2 separate regions of the Homo sapiens genome follow, and region 1 is linked to region 2. Evidence: promoter capture Hi-C in 16 types of primary human blood cells and fetal thymus (Javierre and others, 2016). All regions are on one chromosome and are shown on one strand. Each heading gives the region's core, a stretch centred on a gene start or on the middle of the fragment in contact. The rest is flanking DNA. Distances are from core to core; before and after follow the strand shown. Region 1 holds the start of GADD45A (growth arrest and DNA damage inducible alpha). Region 2 holds the start of JAK1 (Janus kinase 1).

Region 1 (4,545 bases), core at 1,214-3,713, 2.7 Mb after region 2:
AGTGAGCTATGACAGTGCCACTGCACTCTAGTCTGGATGACAGAGGATGACCCTGTCTCAAAAAAGAAAAAAAAAAAAGCAAACTCACAAATCTGTTCAAGGTGCAAAAACAACCTACCAGTGGCCAATCACCAACTCAGACCACCTACTTCCCTCACCAGTGATTAGGCTACAAAGCAGAGACTCTCAGAACATTCCTCCCATGATAGAAGCCTTCTGATACGCACCGACAGAGAGGTGAGGGGTTAGGGGGTGTTGATCTTGAAGAATGTTCTAGTTAGTCTCTTCATCTGACTTCTCCACTGGCTGGGCCTTGCTTGGCTGGTGAAATGTGAGCAGCTGATGGCAGCACAAGGTGGCCAGCCCAAAGCTCAAATTAACACTATGATTACTACCATGATTCTTAATAGCTGAAGAGAATTTCCACAGGATAAGGATTTATTGAACACACAAAAAAGATGGCATTAAGAATATTATACTAGTTTTTTGTTGTTGTTTTTGTTTTTGTTTTGAGACGGAGTTTCAATCTTGTCACCCAGGCTGGAGTGCAATGGCACCATCTCGGCTCACTGCAACCTCCACCTCCAGATTCAAGTGATTCTCCTGCCTCAGCCTCCCGAGTAGCTAAGATTACAGGTGCCTGCCACCGCGCCTGGCTAATTTTTGTATTTTTAGTAGAGCTGGGGTTTCACCATGTTAGCCAGGCTGGTCTCAAACTCCTTAGCCAGGCTGGTCTCAAGCTCCTGACCTCAGGTGATCCACCCGCCTTGGCCTCCCAAAGTGCTGGGATTACAGGTGTGAGCCACCACACCTGGCCCCAACTAATTTTTGTATTTTTAGTAGAGGTGGGGTTTTACCATGTTGGCCAGGCTGGTTTTGAACTCCTGACCTCAGGTGATCCGACCTCCTCAGCCTCTCAAAGTGCTGGGATTACAGGCGTGAGCTACTGCACCTGACCAGGAACCTTATGATTTTTAACAAGAAAAAATAATACAATACAATTCTAGGTAGGTGGAAAATACATCCATCATAGTTGAACTGATCTTCTCCTTTGATGTGGACAATGATCTAATACTGAAATAACAAGCATTATATTTCTTTCAGATGTTAAAGCATTGATTGTTTTTTGAAAGAAAGAAAGAATAATTCTGCATTATGGAACCAGTAGTAGGAATGTATGTAGGATAAGCATGACTAAAATATCAAAAAGATCTTTAATATGCAAAGCAAGTAGCAGTGCTAAAATAATTGAACAATTCTTGAGTATATATTTCCATATGATTTCTAAATATAATCATTTGGTATCTTTACAAACATTACTACAAGAGCATTCTACTCCTGTGTACTTGGCAGTTGTCAGAGTTACCTGTAGTGGTTTTTAAAATGACATCACATATTGGAGTTATCACACTGATTATAAAGAAATATATATATATATATAATATTGATATAGGAAAATTTCTCTGATTTACCATTGACTATCAATGTCCTCCAGGACTAATAAACAGTTAATGATAAATCAACTATGTCCATTCTAATGTGTAACTACAATCTAACTGTGTAGCTAAATGCAGTTTTTACTTCCAGTCATGAGGCCCAACTTTGAAGATAATCACTGAGAAAACATTCTAGGTATACTCAGCAATCAGGCAAAATGATGTAACGTATCTGAGTCAGAAAGTATGACAAATGAATATTTTTGCATACTGGAAGCCCAAGCTTATCTCAGAGAAAATCCCCAAAATACTTGGGCAAATAACTTTCTGATGAAGTCAAATATAGCATGCAGTATAATTTTTGAGTGGAGGACTAAGCCTATAATAAGAAGTAACCATTTGATATCACATTTTTACTGGATATAGTCGACTTGGGTGGGGCACTTTAGGACTGTGGTTCATTTGAATTGGTGTAAACAATACACCGGTTCTACTGTCCTACAGCCTCCATTCAGATGACTGAAGTCATGGGACTTTCAGCATAGCTAGCTGATGACAGTGCATACTATTTTGTCCCAAAATCCAGTTCAAGCATGGACATACCAATAAGAGCCTAAGCTCTTTAAAGGCAAAGGACCAGGAATTGTACAGTTCTTGGTATAGAAGAAGACAGGCAAAAGTGTTTTTGAACTAACGTTAAATGTGCAATATGTTAGAATTCATGCAATGCACAGGACTGCAGGATTCTGATATCTTATTTAACTCTCAAATTCTATTCAACTCAATAAACCTTGACTGTGCTTCTACTAAATGCAGGTATTGTACTAGGAGCTGAGGACACCAAACTGATGAAGTCCTTGCTGTCAAGAAACTCACATGATTCCCTAATTCTTTGTCAGCTTGCTGTGATCACATTTTCTTCCCAAGAACCTCTAAGAAATGCCTAGTGGATAGAACCTTGGAGTTCCACGGAACATATTAACAATCGCCAAATGATGACTCAGGCTAGATTGTGTAATTCAGGTTTTGTCTGCAAAACTGAAAATGCTTCGGTAACCTACCTAAATTTCAATGTTGAGGAATTCTTTAAGAAAGACATCAAATGTTAAGATTTAAGGCATAGATATGAGATACATAGTCATGCTTAGGTGAATTATGCACTGACCATGACCATTTCTTTACTCAAATGTTGTCCATGGCTGACAACACAGTGAAAAAATGAGTGCAAAATGACAACTCAAATAAATGAACCAGAAAACCTATCACTTTTCTTTTCCACCAAATTAAGATCAAGAGAGCTGGAGAATATTTTGTCTAGAGTGATAAAAACATAAGGGTGCAAAACTTCCAGGTACCTTTGCAGAAATTACTTCTGTGACCTTTGGCTGTACAGCAACCTTAATAATGCAAGCACTGTTTTGAATGCAAGCATGTGGGAGCCATTTTCACCACTTTTGATGACTTCAGTAGGTTTAAGAAATGTTTTTGCTTTTATTGCATAAACCATAAAACAAAGGAAGGGACTTTTGAACTACTCAGTGAGAGTCTATATATTAAAGTTTGTTTTTCAAAAATGTGTAACTACCATTTGCAGTTTTAAAGGTCTGCTTTCCACCTACAAGTTGCCATTATCTCAAAGGTGAAATTTTAGCATATGACTAAAAACTTCCTATAGTTACAGCTTCATGATTCAGCATCTAACATCAATAATTCACAGTGAGATCATAGGAGGCTCTCTGTGGAAGGTAACGACATACATACGTTAGGAAAGGAAGCTTAGGGCATATCGAGAGCATTTTGAATTTAGACTTGTGGGCTGTGTGGGTGTCAGATGGTTGTCTCTCAGCTGGTGGGCGTCCAGAAGGATCCTTGTTTGGGCAAGGCTCTTTGAGAAAGGAGAATCTGGGTTGCCAGGGATTCCCACATGTGGTCACCAGCTCCCCACGCAGACCAGCTCACGATTTCCCAGTTACACCGGGCAGGTGGGAAACCGTTCTGCTTTCTGTGGAAAAGATTCTAACTTGGTTCCCTGCCATCCCTGAATACAAACGGGTTGGTTTTTCTTTTTTCAGCTTCCAACCCTTGCAGCTTTCCAAAAATAAATCAAACCAGCCATCAGGGCACCGAAATAATACTACTGCTAATAAGCAGCTTCGCCTAGACTTAGATAAACAACACTTCTGAGGTAAACTTTGCCCCGGAGGTCTGGAGACACTTTTTTAATGTAACCTGCTTACTAATAATTACTAGACTTCAGTGCATTAACCCTGGAAATAGATTTTAATAGCCACCCCTTAAAACAAAAGACATGAAAAGATAATAAGAAAAAAGTGCCGCAACTATTATAGAAAAACACTTGGCAGCCTGCTTCAGCCCAAGCTGAGGCCACCTCTAGCCTCTGCTAAAGCCCCCCACTCCCAATGGTCCCCGCCAACCGGATAAGAGTGCGCGCGGGACCCGCCTTCCCCTCTCGGCACCGCCCCCGCCCCCGCCCCCTCGGCTCGCCTCCCGCGTGGCTCCTCCCTTTTCCGCTCCTCTCAACCTGACTCCAGGAGCTGGGGTCAAATTGCTGGAGCAGGCTGATTTGCATAGCCCAATGGCCAAGCTGCATGCAAATGAGGCGGAAGGTGGTTGGCTGAGGGTTGGCAGGATAACCCCGGAGAGCGGGGCCCTTTGTCCTCCAGTGGCTGGTAGGCAGTGGCTGGGAGGCAGCGGCCCAATTAGTGTCGTGCGGCCCGTGGCGAGGCGAGGTCCGGGGAGCGAGCGAGCAAGCAAGGCGGGAGGGGTGGCCGGAGCTGCGGCGGCTGGCACAGGAGGAGGAGCCCGGGCGGGCGAGGGGCGGCCGGAGAGCGCCAGGGCCTGAGCTGCCGGAGCGGCGCCTGTGAGTGAGTGCAGAAAGCAGGCGCCCGCGCGCTAGCCGTGGCAGGAGCAGCCCGCACGCCGCGCTCTCTCCCTGGGCGACCTGCAGTTTGCAATATGACTTTGGAGGAATTCTCGGCTGGAGAGCAGAAGACCGAAAGGTGAGTCGGCCTGCGGACTCTTCCGGCCCGAACTTCTCTTACCTACCCCGCGCTCCCCGGTGCAGCCGGGCTGTGGAAGGCTTGCAGGG
Region 2 (4,496 bases), core at 920-3,419:
TGTTCTCTCTACACAAATGAGTATCAACCTACACGTTCTCAATGCTTGTTTCAGTCGGAAGTATATGGCTTTAGCCAAGCTCATGTTAAGATCCTAAATTACAACAACTGAAATGTAGTTATATTTTAGGAAATGTTTGAATTATTTTACCTATATCTAATTTATGCATTCTCTACAATCATTTCCCAATGGTAGTAAATAATTAGTATAGTATGAAATGGAGGAAACCATTTAAACTGGCTGTATTCAGTGTGGAGTATCACACTGCAATCCTAGCAGTAAAAAAACATAGTTTTGTATCTATTTGCAGAAACTAAGACTCAGTCAAAGCACTTAGTTAATATGATATACAGAATTAAGAAGAGGTTATGATTATTCCTATTTATAATGTCCAAAGTCATTCCAGTATGATGTCTTCACATCTTTAAATGTGATCTGGATCTATACAGGGGAGACATTTTCTCCACATTACAAAGCATATTGTACCAGAAATGTCTGGAACCCTGGTGGTCTCCATTAATCTTCACCACAAAGTACAAAAGAACACATTGATCCTTCAATGAAAATAATCCCCTGGTCTTGGAAAACATCAGAGTCACCAAAAGCAAAATCAAGAAACAACACATAATGGGGTTTTGGAAAGGGAAGAACAAAGATTCAATCAATACGAATTGCTCATCTTAAACAAAATCTACTGTGCCTATACCCATATTTAACTCAAATCTTTTCTTCAAAAAATAAAAAAATAGCCAAAACCAAACACGCCCTGATTTACATCTCTCTCTGCATTATTCTCATCACTTAACTACCCATGTTTTACTCCCTGAAAGAAGTAATGACAATTTTATACCACTGTAAATTCCTGCCAGTGAGAGAAAAACCCTATGACTTGGGGGGAAAAGTGTCAATGACATGTATAGCGATGTACTCAACCAGGGGCAGAAGGCAGCTCACAGCCACGTAGTAAGAAGAGTGGCAGGAAGGACGGGGTCCCCTTCCCCAGGAACACACAGGAAATCATGGAGTGCAAACCCTCCAAAAAACGTGTGCACAAACACCTGGCAAACATCGCATCTTTTATCTAGAAGTTCCGTGGTAAACACACATCCAAGGAGCCCACATCCCAGGGACCCTGGGGAGTGACTTTGGAGGAGTGTCTATTAGTCCTCCGATGCTCCCGGTCGCCGACGATGCGCGGATGGAGTTGGAGTGAGGGAGCCAGAGACCAGCCCCAGTTTCGGTTAATCAGTCCCTTTCCAGTGGGATTCGCAATTCCCCGGGTAGTTCTCTCCCACTGTTCCCCTTCCCTGGTCCTCTCGCCCAGGGTCTCCTTTCCCACTTCTCGCTGGCTACCTGAGGCCTGGTTCCTAACAGAACCTAAGAGGGGAGGGGGCGTTTCCCGAGTTCGCGGACGCCCAACACCCAGCTCCAAATCCCAGAAACTTTCCCTCGCTGAGACCGCAAGGAAGGAAAAAAGCTAAGACCCTCAGCCTCCTTCCTGGGGCCGAAGAAGAAAACCTTTCTGCGCTGCCACCCCGGCCGGGAGCTGGCGGTCAAGTTCGCGGTACAAGGAGCTAGGGACGTCAGCCCTCCAGCCCGCGCCTGTATCTCGGGGTGGTATAAACAGGATGTCAGACAGCGCGCTCCGGGCTTGTTTATGAAAACTTGCCGTGCGCGCTGGGGGAGGGGGCGGCCTGGCTTAACCGCTCTTCTCCCGGCCGGGGGCCCCCGCCCGGCGACCTCCTCGCCGCCCGCCGGCTCCGCGGGGCTGGAAATCCCCGCCTTCCCCGCCCGAGCCGCGGGGTCCTGAGCTGCGCTCAGGAGCAGCCCGGGCCGCGCAGCCTAAGGACCGACCAAGAGCGGTGGCCGCGCCTCCGGCCAGTCCGGGCTGCGCGCCCCTCGCCTGCCGACCGCGGCCGCCCCGGCTCCTCCACCTCCCCCGGTGACACTCACCACTTCCGTGTGCGCCTGGGCCAGGCAGCGCCCCGTCGCTGCGCTGGCTGGGGTCGACCGGCAGGCTCGCTAGGCGGCCAGCCCCGCGGGGCCCCAGCGTGCGCGCGCCCAGGGCTGAGGAGGGGTCGCGGCGAGGACAGCCGGGACTGGGCGCAGGCCCGCACTGTCTGCAGCTCCAGGATACTCCGCGGCCGCCGCGGCCTGCGCTCAGCGACGCACCGCCTCCCGTCCCGCCCCGCCCCGCCCCGCGGCCGGCCCCACCCCCGTGGCCGCCGGGCCCACCCCCTCGCGACGTCACCAGCGGCAGCCCCGGAAAGCGGGGCGGGGTCGCGGTCCCGGCGGAGACTCTGCGCCTCCGGCCTACCCGCCCCGCCCCCATCCGGCTTCGCTCGCGAAGCTGCCCCCACTCGTCTCTGTTCACCGCGTCCTCTAGATTCTAGAATCTAGAAACTCATCTAGGACGCGAGGTCATCTATCGCGGGGAGTAAAATTGCCAGGATTCGCCCGTAGATTGACCCCTCCCAGCTCTGGAGCCCCCTCCGCCACACCTTTGTGCGCTCGATGCAGAAATGCATCCCGCCTCCTCCGTATACGCTCCGCTTCTTACCCCAGCTCAGTAGGAGAGGAGCTAGTGGAGCACTAGACTAAAAAGAATTTAACAATACAGCCCCCAGCTTGGACAAGCTACTGCAGATCCAACCCATTCCGTATTTTAAAAGCTCTTTACGAAAAAAAAAAAAGCATATGCATAATAGGAATTAGAACTACATTCACTGATACCTAATGCATGTACAGCGCTTTTCATTTTTTACTAATAACCTCTCAAAGTAGTAGCATCATCTTATCCATGAGGAACAAATTAAGTCTTTAGTGTCTTAATCAAGGTCACACTGTAGCCAAGATTCATACTTCGTAGGCAGTCCACGGACAAATCCTAACAATTTTATTTCCTTAGGTATCTCTCCAATCAGTTCACTTGTCTATGTTCCGGCAACACGGTCCGAGCTGCCACCATCTCTCACCTGAAGGGACCACGAACATCTCTTAAATCGTCACTCCATTCACTCCAGCCCCCAATTAATTCTCTACAATGAACTTTTAAAAATTCAAATCTGTTCCACACACTCCCATGCTTAAAACACTCCAGCGACTTCCCCCTGACAATCCCTGGATGAAAATCCTCCGAGGCCGTGCACGGTCAGAATTCTGCAGCTTCAGGGCTGTGGACAGAGGCTGCCCCACCTGTGCTGACTTCACTAACCCTGCTGGACAGTTCCTGATCACTTGAGTTACTGCAACTGAAACTGAGCAAGATATTCTGGGTGTGGAATAAAGTCAAGCATCCGAATTAGACTACTGAATTTGAGGTTTGGCCTCCACCAGTAACCACCTGTGTTGCCCTAAACAATTCTTAGTTGACTCAATTCTCAGTGGAGCAGCAGACAAAAGGATCTCCAAAGTGCCTTCCAGAAGTACAGAAAAGAGGACCAAAGAAGACCGGAGATCAGAGCAGACAGGGAGGCAACCCGGGTTGCCTGCATTGTGGGTGTTTGTGTGCAAGTCTTGTCTCATCTGCCACACTCTGAACAACACCTCAGGGCTGTTTGCATCATTTTCTTCACCTGTTAAATAGGGATAATGCCTTCCTTAAAGGGGTTTTGCTGAAGGTGAACTATGATAATATAGCCCACATGGCATGGGCTCAGGAAGTGGTAGGGGTTTTTATTGAGCTGGACCATAAAGAACAGGTGAGACTGACATGAAGGGAGACAGAGACGTGAAAGAACAGCATTTCAGGTGAGGATGTAAAGAAAAAGGAAAGTCAGGAAGGCAGCAGTGAACCCATTGTGCCCACGAACGAATCTGGCTGTTCACAGGGTGGAATCAGGGGGAGAGGGCCTGGATTCAGTTTAGATCTGTTCGTCTATAACAGACATTGTGCTAGGTGATGAAGATTCAGAGAAAAAAAAAATAGACTAGGTTCCTGACCTCTGAATGCTCAATGCAGTCAGAGAGACAGGCAAGTAACAATTCAGTGATTCCCGGTCCTGTAATGGTGATCACAGAAGACAGTCACCCAGCCGAGTCTGAGGAAGTCAGAATAAGCTTCAAGTAGCCGACAGGAGGCAGGAGTCAGGAGGTAGCGGCATATTCAGGCAGTAATAGTATATGCTGGCTGGGTGTGGCGGCTCATGCCTGTAATCTCAGCACTTTGGGAGGCTGAGGCAGGAGGACTGCTTGAGGCCAGGAGTTTGACACCAACTTGGGCAACACAGCAAGACCCTGTCTCTAAAATAAAAACAAACAAACAAACAAAGGCCAGGTGCAGTGGCTCACGCCTGTAATCCCAGCACTTTGGGAGGCCGAGGTGGGCCAATCACTTGAGGTCAGGAGTTTGAGACCAGCCTGGCCAACATGGCGAAACCCCATCTCTACTAAAAATACAAAAATTAGCTGGACGTGGTGGCGGGAACCTGTAATCTCAGCTACTTGGGAGACTGAGGCACAAGAATCGCTTGAAGCCGGGAGGCAGAGTTTGCAGT

What was found. Contacts are between HindIII fragments. The CHiCAGO score rates a contact against its expected background, and 5 or more counts as called.
Region 1: a fragment that was not itself captured here is called in contact with the fragment with the promoter of JAK1 in region 2 in 2 of 17 cell types (naive CD8 T cells and total CD8 T cells); the score reaches 7.2 in naive CD8 T cells.

What each region holds. Positions count from the first base shown.
Region 1 is chr1:67,681,083-67,685,627 of GRCh38, forward strand. GADD45A (growth arrest and DNA damage inducible alpha) reads left to right here and starts at 4,119. Exons shown (of 4, transcript NM_001924.4): 1 at 4,119-4,456. The coding sequence starts at 4,413. RefSeq lists a cis regulatory region at 1,528-2,020 and silencers at 3,783-3,962, 3,973-4,032, 4,223-4,382. The HindIII fragment of the contact is 1,492 bases long and covers 1,718-3,209 here.
Region 2 is chr1:64,964,380-64,968,875 of GRCh38, forward strand. JAK1 (Janus kinase 1) reads right to left here and starts at 2,170. Exons shown (of 25, transcript NM_002227.4): 1 at 1,954-2,170. RefSeq lists a silencer at 1,515-2,394. The HindIII fragment of the contact is 15,152 bases long and covers 1-4,057 here.